4 separate regions of the Homo sapiens genome follow, and regions 1, 2 and 3 are each linked to region 4. The links are contacts of gene promoters, found by promoter capture Hi-C in human tissues and cell types (Jung and others, 2019). All regions are on one chromosome and are shown on one strand. Each heading gives the region's core, a stretch centred on a gene start or on the middle of the fragment in contact. The rest is flanking DNA. Distances are from core to core; before and after follow the strand shown.

The links. Contacts are between HindIII fragments. The study calls those that stand out against the background at their distance.
Region 1: a contact is called between a fragment that was not itself captured here and the fragment with the promoter of WNT8A in region 4, in 3 of the 25 tissues and cell types used here (bladder, ovary and spleen).
Region 2: a fragment that was not itself captured here is called in contact with the fragment with the promoter of WNT8A in region 4 in 1 of the 25 tissues and cell types used here (pancreas).
Region 3: a contact is called between a fragment that was not itself captured here and the fragment with the promoter of WNT8A in region 4, in 1 of the 25 tissues and cell types used here (hippocampus).

The regions. Positions count from the first base shown.
Region 1 is chr5:138,118,965-138,121,664 of GRCh38, reverse strand. All of the region lies in intron 4 of NME5 (NME/NM23 family member 5), which reads left to right. Among named protein-coding and RNA genes, the nearest start is that of NME5, 19 kb to the left of the region's middle. The HindIII fragment of the contact is 8,485 bases long and covers 1-2,700 here.
Region 2 is chr5:138,046,862-138,049,561 of GRCh38, reverse strand. It overlaps a transcript of FAM13B not described here. Among named protein-coding and RNA genes, the nearest start is that of FAM13B, 15 kb to the right of the region's middle. The HindIII fragment of the contact is 5,141 bases long and covers 1-2,700 here.
Region 3 is chr5:138,022,786-138,025,485 of GRCh38, reverse strand. The region is part of intron 1 of FAM13B (family with sequence similarity 13 member B); the gene reads left to right. Among named protein-coding and RNA genes, the nearest start is that of FAM13B-AS1, 8.6 kb to the left of the region's middle. The HindIII fragment of the contact is 7,268 bases long and covers 1-2,700 here.
Region 4 is chr5:138,082,658-138,085,357 of GRCh38, reverse strand. It overlaps WNT8A (Wnt family member 8A), which reads right to left and starts at 1,325. Exons shown (of 5, transcript NM_001300939.2): 1 at 1,075-1,325; 2 at 722-860. The coding sequence starts at 1,230. The HindIII fragment of the contact is 19,757 bases long and covers 1-2,700 here.

The sequences.
Region 1 (2,700 bases), core at 23-2,522, 36 kb before region 4:
TAAAGATACACATATAGATTATTGGAACAGAATTGAGGATCTAGAAGTAAACTTTTACACTTATGGTCAATTCACTTTCAACAAAGGTGCCTAGACAATTCAGTGAGAAAAGGATGGTCTTGCCAATACAGTCCCCAACTTACCATGGTTCAAGTTACAGTTTTTTGACTTTACTATGGTGCTTTCAGCTGTGTACATTAATGGCGAGTATCCATACAACCATTCTATTTTGGTTTCCTTTTTTTTTGAGACAGGGTGTCTCTCTGTCACCCAGGCTGAAGTGCAGTGGTGCCCACTACAGCCTGACCTCCTGGGCTCAAGCATTCTCCCACCTTAGCCTCCTGAGTAGCTGAGACTAGAGGCATAGACCACCATGCCTGGCTACTTTTTGAATTTTTTTGTTGTAGAAAGGCAGTCTCGCCATATTGCCCAGGCTGGTATTGAACTCCTGGCCTCAAGAGATCCTCCCCCAAAAATGATATATATATATATCTTTTTTTTTTAAGAGACAGAGTCTTGCTTTGTTGCCCAGATGGTCTCAAACTCATGGCTTCAGGTAATCCTACTGCCTCAGCCTCTCAAGGAGCTAGGACTACAAGTGTGAACCACTGTGCCCAGCTCATAATATATGTATATTATATAGAAAATGTTATTTATATAAAATTTGCTTTGTGTTAGATGATTTTGCCCAACTGTAGGCTAATGTAAGTGTTCTGAGCACATTTAAAGTAGGCTATGCTATGCTATGATGTTCAATAGGCTAGGTGTATTAAATGTGTTTTTGACTTACTGATACTTTCAACTTATGATGGGTTTATTGGGATGTAACCCATGTAAATTGAGGAAAGTCTGTATATGGTGCTAGGACAGCATGATAGTCACATAAAAACAAAAAGAACTTAGACCCTTGTTTCATAGCATACACAAAAATTAACTCAAAATGGATCACAGACTTCAATGTAAAAACATCTAAAAGAAAACAAGAAAATCTTTGTAACTGGAGTTGGACAAAGACTTCTTAAAATGACATCAAAAGCAAGATCCATAAAAGAAAATATTGATAAATTGGACTAAATCAAATTAAAAGCTTTTGTGCTTCAAAGGACATCATTAAGAATGTGAAAAGAGGCTGGGCGCGGTGGCTCATGCCTGTAATCCCAGCACTTTGGGAGGCCGAGGCAGGCGGCTCACAAGGTCAGGATATCAAGACCATCCTGGCTAACATGGTGAAACCCCGTCTCTACTAAAAAATACAAAAAAATTAGCCGGACTAATTAGTGGCGGGCACCTGTAGTCCCAGCTACTCAGAAGGCTGAGGCAGGAGAATGGCGTGAACCCAGGAGGCGGAGCTTGCAGTGAGCCAAGATCGCGGCACTGCACTCCAGCCTGGCGACAGAGAAAGACTCTGTCTCAAAAAAAAAAAAAAAAAAAAAAGAGCTGGGAGCAGTGGTTTGCACCTGTAAATCCAGCTATTCAGGAGGCTGAGGTGGGAGGATTGCTTGAGGCCAGGAGTTTGAGACCAGCGTGAGTGACACCCTGTCTCTAAACACTTAAAGAAAAAAAAAGCTGGGTGTGGTGGCACACACTTGCAGGCCCAGCTACTTGGAAGGCTGAAGCCAGAGGATGCTTCAGCCCAGGAGTTCGAGGCTGCAGTGAGCTGTGCTCACACCACCACACTCCAGACTGGGCAACGGAGCAAGACCCTGTGTCAAAAAAAAAAATAGAAGTTAAATTTTTAAAAATATGAAAAGATAGGTAGGCAACAGACTGGGAAAAAATATCACCAAATAATATAAAGAACTTGTAACTAGAATATATAAAGAACTCCTATGTCTAAATAATAAGAGAAACATCCCAACTGAAAACTGAGGCTGGTTCTACTCAGGAGGCTGAGGCAGGAGAATTGCTTCAACCTGGGAGACGGGGTTGCAGTGAACTGAGATTGTGCTGCTGCACTCCAGCCTGGGTGACAAGAGTGAAACTCTGTCTCAAAAAAAAAAAAATAAAGAAAAGAAAAGAAAAAGAAAACAGGCTGGTTGCAGTGGCTCATGCCTGTAATCTCAGCACTTTGGCAGGCTGAGGCAGGCAGATTATTTGACGTTAGGAGTTCAAGACCAGCCTGGCCAACATGGTGAAACCCCATCTCTACTAAAAATACAGAAATTAGGGCCGAGCATGGTGGCTCATGCCCGCAATCCTAGCACTTTGGGAGGCCGAGACAGGAGGATTACCTTAGATCAGGAGTTTGAGACCAGCCTGGCCGACATGGTGAAACCCTGCCTCTACTCAACGTACAAAAATTAGCCAGGCATGGTGGCACACTCCTGTCTACTTAGGAGGCTGAGGCAGGAGAATCACTTGAACTCAGGAGTTGGAGGTTGCAGTGAGCTGAGATTGTGCCACTGCATTCCAGCCTGGGCAACAAAGCGAGACTCTGTCTCAAAAAATAAAAATAAATAAAAATACAAAAATTAGCAGGGTGTGGTGATGCGGACCTGTAGTCCCAGCTACTCGGAAGGCTGAGGTGGGAGAATCACATGAACCCAGGAGGAGGTTGCAGTGATCTGAGATTGCATCATTGCACTCCAGCCCAGGCAACAGAGTAAGACTCCATCTCAAAAAAACATATAAAAAAATAGAGAAAAGTTCTTTAAAAAGAACCTTTTTAATGATTGTATAGTATTTAATCATTATGTTTGC
Region 2 (2,700 bases), core at 79-2,578, 36 kb after region 4:
GTGGCTCACGCCTGTCATCCCAGCACTTTGGGAGGAAGAGGTGGGTGGATCATCTGAGGTCAGCAGTTCAAGACCAGCCTGACCAACAGGGTGAAACCCCACCTCTACTAAAAAAAAAAAATTAGTAGGGCGTGGTAGCACACGCCTGTAGTCCCAGCTACTCAGGAGGCTGAGGCAGGAGAATCGCTTGAACCCGGGAGGCAGAGGTTGTAGTGAGCCGAGATCACGCCATTGTATTCCAGCCTGGGCAACAACAGCGCAAAACTCTATCTTGAGGAAAAAACAAAAACAAAAACAAAACAAGAAATGTATCACTCTGAAGCCAGGCACAGTGGCTCACGCCTGTAATCCCAGCACTTTGGGAGGCCCAGGCAGGCAGATTGCTTAAGGCCAGGAGTTCGAGACCAGCCTGGCCAATGTGGTAAAATCCCGTCTCTACTAAAAATACAAAAATTAGCTGGGCGCGGTGGCGCACGCCTGTAACTCCAGCTAGTCGGGTGGCTGAGGCACGAGAATCACTTGAACCTGGGAGGAGGAGGTTGCAGTGAGCCAAGATCTCACCACTGCACTCCAGCCTGAGCAAAGGAGTGACTTCGCCTTAAAAAAAAAAAAAAAAAAAAAGAAATGTATCACTCTAATGTCCTTCAGAATTCTCTGATTTTTAGATTGTAGTCAGAAGGAGACTGACATTGAGGTAGTGGCAAAGGTCTGCATGGGGTACAATGATGCTATATTTCATCACATTGCTGAATACTTTTAAAAATATTGTGAATATATGAGAAAGAGCATGTAATGCATATATACAATTTGCAAAATAATTATGAAAAACAAACCCTATATACCTTCTACTTGGCTTGAGAATTAGAATGTTACAAAAGCTCTGAAGGTCCTAGGGGTCGGCCAGCATGCTGGTACAATTTGGCCACTGCAAAAAGGTGCCTTACCAAGGGGAGAGGGATTTGCCTCCTAAAAAATGGAGCTTTTTCCTTGGGTACAAAGACACCACCTGGTGCTAGGCTGAGGGTCCATAGGCTGGTTCCTACCCAGTGGATATGTCATTTTTCTAATTATCTGCTCAGAAAACAATTCTTTTTTCTAGTTCACATAGAGGCCTCTTATAGGCTAGTGTACTGTGTCCTAGGGGTGCGGGGTCACACCTATAAGTTCTGTACCCTCCACTATAAGTAACAATTATATTGAATTTTGGATTATTATTTTTCTTTAGTGTTTTACCATGTATATATGCATCTCTAAATTACCTACCTCTCTTTCCCTGTACTCCAAAGTGCCATTTGGCGTTGTATTAGTGTTTTGTTTTGTTTTTAATTGCTATAACAAATTACCACAAACTTAGTGGCTCAAACACACAGATTTGTATGTGTGGGGCAGTGGGTATATGGGAAATCGTACTTTCTGCTTTATTTTTCTGTAAACCTAAAACTGCTCTAGAGTTTTGTTTTTTGTTTTTTTGGATTTCTTTCTTTCTTTTTTCTTTCTTTCTATTTTAAAAGGCATTAGGTACTAGCATTAGGGGAAACTTGGAACTCTCTGTACTATCTTTTGCAACTTTTCTGTAAACCTAAAGTTATTCTAAAATAAAAAGGTTATTTAAAATTTTTTAAAAACACAATACAAATGTATTATTTTATAGTTCTGTAGGTCAGCAGTCTGACGTGGGTCTCACTGGGCTAAAGTCAGGCCCCTAGAGGAATATCTAGGGGTCTATAGGAAAGAATCTGTTTGCTTGCCTTTCCTAGCTTCTAGAGGTGGTCCACATTCCCTGGTTCATGGCCTCCATTCACTTTCAAAGCCAGCAATGGCAGATTGAGTTATTCTCATACCCAGTCACTCCAGTGTCTTCTGCCTTCCTCTTCCATTTATAAAGGCCTGTGTGATTACATTGGGCCCACCCAGATAATCCGGGATAATTTCCCCATCTCTGGGTCAGTTGAGCAACTTTAATTCTGCCTATAACCTTTATTCCCATTTGTTATGTGCCGTAACATATTCACAGGTTCTAGGGAATAGAATGTGGACATCTTCATTTTTTTTTTTTTGAGATGGAGTCTTGCTCTGTCACCAGGCTGGAGTGCAGTGGTGTGATCTCGGCTCACTGCAACCTCTGCCTCCTGGGTTCAAGCAATTCTCCTGCCTCAGCCTCCTGAGTAGCTGGGACTACAGGCGTGTGCTACCACGCCCTACTAATTTTTTTTTTTTTTAGTAGAGGTGGGGTTTCACCCTGTTAGTCAGGATTGTCTTGATATCCCGACCTCATGATCCACCCGCCTCGGCCTCCCAAAGTGCTGAGATTACAGGTATGAGCCACCGCGCCCGGTCTGAATGTGGACATCTTTGGGACATCATTATTCTGCCTACACTAGCCATCTTTATGTAGTACTTTGCCACATGCTTGTTCTGCCCCCCAACTAAAAATGATTGTTCTTTTGTTTCTTCTCTACAGATAGCTCACTCCATATCTGTCAAGCTTGAGTTGCTTTCTGAGTAAGTGAAAAGAAGTGGCTGGGCACGGTGGCTCACGCCTGTAATCCCAGCCCTTTGGGAGGCCGAGGCAGGTGGATCATAAGGTCAGGAGTTCAAGACCAGCCTGGCCAAGATGGTGAAACCCCGTCTCTACTAAAAATACAAAAATTAGCTGGGCGTGGTGGTGGGTGCCTGTAATCCCAGCTACTCGGGAGGCTG
Region 3 (2,700 bases), core at 61-2,560, 60 kb after region 4:
TGCATTGTTTCTGAGCCGGGAGTAGTGACTCATGCCTGTAATCCCAGTGATTTAGGAGGCTGAGGTGGGAGGTTTGCTTGAGCCCAGGAGTTTGAGGCTGCATGATTGGGCCACTGTACTCCAGCCTGGGCAACAGGGTGAGACCTCAACTCAAAAAAAAAAAAAAAAAAAATACATATATATATATATATATATATGGCTTTGTTTGTAATCACTGTTATCTCATGGTGAGGTATATGATGTAAAATTCAATGTAATTTCCTATTCCTTGTCAATAACACCATGCTAGGCAACTGTCACTTGTATTTAAAATAATTTTGCTGTTTGGGGCTGGGAGTGGTGGCTCATGCCTGTAATGCCGAGGTGTGCAGATCACCTGAGGTCAGGAGTTCGATACCAGCCTGGCCAACGTGGTGAAACTCCATCTCTACCAAAAAATACAAAAAAATTAGCCGTGCATGGTGGCACGTGCCTATGATCTCTACTACTCAGGAGGCTGAGGCACGAGAATCGCTTGAGCCCAGGAGACAGAGGTTGCAGTGAGCTGAGATCATGCCACTGCACTCTAGCCTGGGTGACAGAGTAAGACTCTGTCTCAAAAAAAAAACAAACAAAAAAAACAAACTCAAAAAACTCTCTCTCTCTCTCTTTCTCTCTCTCTCTCTCTCTCTCTGTGTGTGTGTGTGTGTGTATAAATTTTGCTGTTTAGATTTATAACAGTATGCTTTTGGAAATACTTGGTTATTTTGAAAGTCCACACATTGTATTCTCTTGTGTCAATCCTTTTATTGAACTGCTTTCTCGACATTTTATTGATTCTATCTGCTAGGACATTTTATTAGATCTTTTTGGTATATTTTTGTACGGTGCCTGCTGCTGTTTTCCTTTTTTTTCTTTTTTTTTTTTAGAATGTAATATTGTAGTTTAGGTGTTGCATTCATTTTCTAGGACTTTCATGACAAATTGCTACAAACTAGGTGGCTCTAAAATAGTAGGAAGTTTTTTCTCACAGTTGAGGAGGGTAGAAGCCCAAAAGGAAGTGTCCACAGGGCAGATTCTAGGGGAGAATCTTTCTTTGCCTCTTCCAGCTTCTGGTAGTTCCTGGCATTTCTTGGCTTCTGGCAGCATAACTCCAGTTTCTCCCTGTCTTCACATGCTCTTCTTTCTCTCTGTGTGTCTCTGTGTATCTTGTCCTCTTCTTATAAGGGCATGAGTCATTGGATTTAGGGCCTGCCCTAAATCTAGGATGATTTCCTCTTGAGATCCTTAACTAATTACACCTGCAAAGACCTTATTTCCAGATAAAGTCACATTATGAGGTTCTTGGTGGACATGAGGTTTGGGGGGGACACTATTCAACCCACCACAGATGTGAAGGGAATATTTATGTGATTTAAGCTCTGAAAAGGGGTAGGAAACAGGACTAAATAATGTCAACTACTTTGCAGTTTGCAGAAATGTTACCTTGGGCCACTCTCCAGTCTGAGAGTTCTCAGCAATGTGCTCTAGATACAAGTCCCAAGTGAAAGATTGGCTCCTGGGGTTTGGACCATAGGCCTGCCCTCTGGAAGTACCTGTTCGCAAGCTAGAAGTAAGTGATGACCTAAAATGTATATAAGACTTTGAGGCCGGGCATGGTGGATCATGCCTGTAATCCCAGGACCTTGGGAGGCTGAAGTGGGTGGATTGCCTGAGCCCAGGAGTTCAAGACCAGCCTGGGCAATGTGGTGAAACCTCATTTTTACAAAAATTAGCCGGGTGTGGTGGCCCACGCCTGTAGTCCTAGCTACTCAAGAGGCTGAGGTAGGAGGATCACGTAGGTCTGGGGAGGTTGAGGCTGCAGTGAGCTGTGATCGCATATGCCACTGTACTCCAGCCTGTCTCAAAAAAAGAAAAAGACTATGGCCAGTTTGAGCGCCAGAATGTGACATTCTATCATACTATAAATTGTGATAATTTACATGAAAAAATAGTATAGTGATTAAGAGCTCAAGGACTTTGAGAATCACATTCTCTGGTTTCATATTCTGCCTCTGACCCTTATTATCTGGGTGGACTGTGGGTAAATTGGTGAGCCTTGCAATGTCTAATTAAGGGTTAAAGAATACCTTAATACATGTAAAGTGCATGGAACTGCCTGGCATATCATAACTGCTCATTTAATGTTTGTTGCTGCTATATCCGTCAACATCCTCAGGAGAAAGAGAAACTTGTCGTCAGAAAGGTTGATGCCTCCGATTGTTTTCCTAGTATCAAGGGTAAATTTTTACTGATGAATTCATAGATTCCTACCCAGCCTCACCTTAGAAAAATATGCTTTCAGGTTGTCTAGTTAGAGGTTGCAGGTAGTAGAGGTCATGAGATGAGATAATAGGCTCCTGACTGGGAGCAGTGGCTCACACCTGTAATCCCAGCAAGGTGGGAGGGATTGCTTGAGGCCAGGAGTCTGAGACCAACCTGGGCAACATGAGACTTCCTCTCTACTAAAAATACAGCTGGGTATGGTGGTGTGTACATGTAGGCCCAGCAATTTGGGAGGCTGAGGCAGGGGATTGCTTGGGTCCAGGAGTTTGAGGCTGCAGTGAGCCATAATTGCACCACTGCACTCCAGCCTGGGTGACAGAGTGAGACCCTGTCTCGAAAAAAAAAAAAAAGAAAATAGCTTCTTGATTTCATTAACAAGGCATTCTAAACACTGAG
Region 4 (2,700 bases), core at 76-2,575:
AAACTTCCTCAGGAGCTGCAAACACACAGCCCTTTCCCCATTTTTATTTCATGCAACTCAGTGCAAGATCAGTGTGTACAAACGCACAAATATAGGCATGCATTTAAAAAATAGAGTAATTTCCGCTGGGCACGGTGGCTTACGCCTGTAATCCCAGCACTTTTGGAGGCTGAGGTGGGTGGATCACCTGAGGTCAGGAGTTTGAGACCAGCCTGGCCAACATGGTGAAACCCCATCTCTACTAAAAATACAAAAAATTAGCCAGGCATGTTGCATGCCTGTAATCCCAGCTACTCGGGAGGCTGAGGCAGGAGAATCACTTGAACTCCGGAGGCGGAAGTTGCGGTAAGCCGAGATTGCGCCATTGCACTCCAGCCTGGGCAACAGAGTGAGACTCCGTCTCAAAAAAAGAAAAAAAAAAAAGAGTAATTTCCTACATTTATCTCATACATAGAGACACCTCATACCCACCTCATTCAACCCATAGGATACTTCTGATGAACTAAACAGAACTGGCCTTACTGACCCAAATGACAAATCTGGGGCTGAGAGAGGGTAGGTAATTTACTCAAGGCCACACAGCAAGGAAATGGCAGGTCAGCAGGTCACTGGCAGCATTTTTATTTCACTGTGCAATACATGTCACACATATACACATACTGCAAGCCCCACTCCATTCACATATATACCCCTTGTACAGGTGAGTCCCACACAAACTTACCACTTCTCAGCCTGTTGTGGGTGGAGAGCTGAAGAGCATTTTCAGGGCAGTTCCAGCGTTCCCAAGCAAACTGGAACTTGCACTCCTCGATGCCACTCTGGGCACCCAAGGCCACACTAGTCGTGTAGGTCAGATAGGCCTGGCAAAGGGAAAAGGGCTGTGAGCTTCTGCCCGGTATGGGTCATCTGTGGTTGGGGGAGCAGGCAGGACTCAGATGGGCCAGCTCTCCATTAAGAATCAACCATGGGTTCCTCTGGGTGAGGGGCTCTGGCACTGTCCCCGCCCCTCTTTTCTCCAGAAGAGTCCCCTTAGGGCCCTCAGTGGGTAAAAACAGAAGCTGGAGATCATCCTACCTTGGGACCTGTTATCAGGAAATTGTTCACTGACCTACCAAAAAGAGAAAAAGTGAGGCAGAGGTGAATGGGGATGAGACAATGGGGGCCTCCTTGGCAAGGAGTGAGGGTTGGGAAAGGACTTACCAGGCAGAGGCACTGAATGCAGCACAGCATATGCCCAGAGCTGCCCAGAGCATAAACAGGTTCCCCATCGCCCTGCCTACCCCAGTGGACCAGGTCCAGCTCAGGGCCAAGTCCAGAGAAGTGAGGAGAGGGCAGGGTCTTCCTCAGTATTTATGTGAGAAAATTCTGAATGTCCAAGGGAGGAAATCAGCAGCTCTTCTCATTTGTTCCTAACTGGCAGGGCTGCAGGAGCCACCGGCCCAGTGGGGGATCTGGGAGGAGGGACTCAGTTTTCGCCAAAAGCCCCGCCCTGCCCAGCCCCTCCAGCCCTTCTTCCCTCCCAGAATGAGAAGGAGGCTGCTTTTCTCCTATACGTGAGATTTCTTTCTTCTATATGTCAATTTTGTCTCTTCCTGCTTCTTTGGCCCATTTCTCAGAATCATGTAGGCCAGAGCAGGCTGGGTCCTTAACCCTGAAGGCAGGTCACCTATTCTTGGAGCTACAGTGTCCTCATCTGTCAGTGAGAGCCCACTCTCTGTCCTGCCATCCTCCCCAAGGTGTTAATAATCATAAAGCAACTCCATCTGGGGCTGCTTCCTACTCATTTACCTAAACCAGTGAGTGCGCCATCCCTACCACTTCCTTCAAGGCTGTGAGGTGATGGAGCTGTGGGACTATGGAGCAGGAACACTTCAGAGTCCATCTCTGCAACAGTCCCTTCCACCACATTCTAGCAACTGCTGGGAAATTTCCTTAATTCCTAGCAAATCTATCCTTTTATATCTGAGGGTTACAACTCCAGTTAGTTGATTTTTTATATATCTGAGAACCAACCTTAGGGCCACCCAGGGTTATATTTGGGAAGACTGATGCCTTTCTCTTTTTTTTTTTTTTTTGAGACAGAGTCTCTCGCTCTGTCGCCCAGGCTGGAGTGCAGTGGTGCAATCTCAGCTCACTACAACCTCTGCCTCCTGGGTTCAAGTGATTCTCCTACCTCAGCCTCCCAAGTATCTGAGACTACAGGTGCCAGCCACCACACCCAGCTAAATTTTGTATTTTTAGTAGAGAAGGGGTTTCGCCAGTTGGCCAGCCTGGTCTTGAACTCCTGGGCTCAAGTGATCTGCCCACCTTGGCCTCCCAAAATGCTGGGATTATAGGCATGAGCCACTGGGCGTGGCCCTGATGCCTTTCTTTCTGATACTACTTTGTTACTAGGACTTCAGCTCCTTAGGTGGGAATCTGTCTTTTATTTTATTTTATTTATTTATTTATTTATTTATTTATTTATTTATTTATTTATTTTGAGATGGAGTCTCACTCTGTCGCCAGGCTGGAGTGCAGTGGCATGATCTCGGCTCACTGCAACCTCCACTTCCTGGGATCGAGCAATTCTCCTGCCTCAGCCTCCGGAGTAGCTGGGATTACAGGTGTGCGCCACCATGCCCAGCTAATTTTTGTATTTTTAGTAGAGACGGGTTTCACCATGTTGGCCGGGATGGTCTCGATCTCTTAATCTCGTGA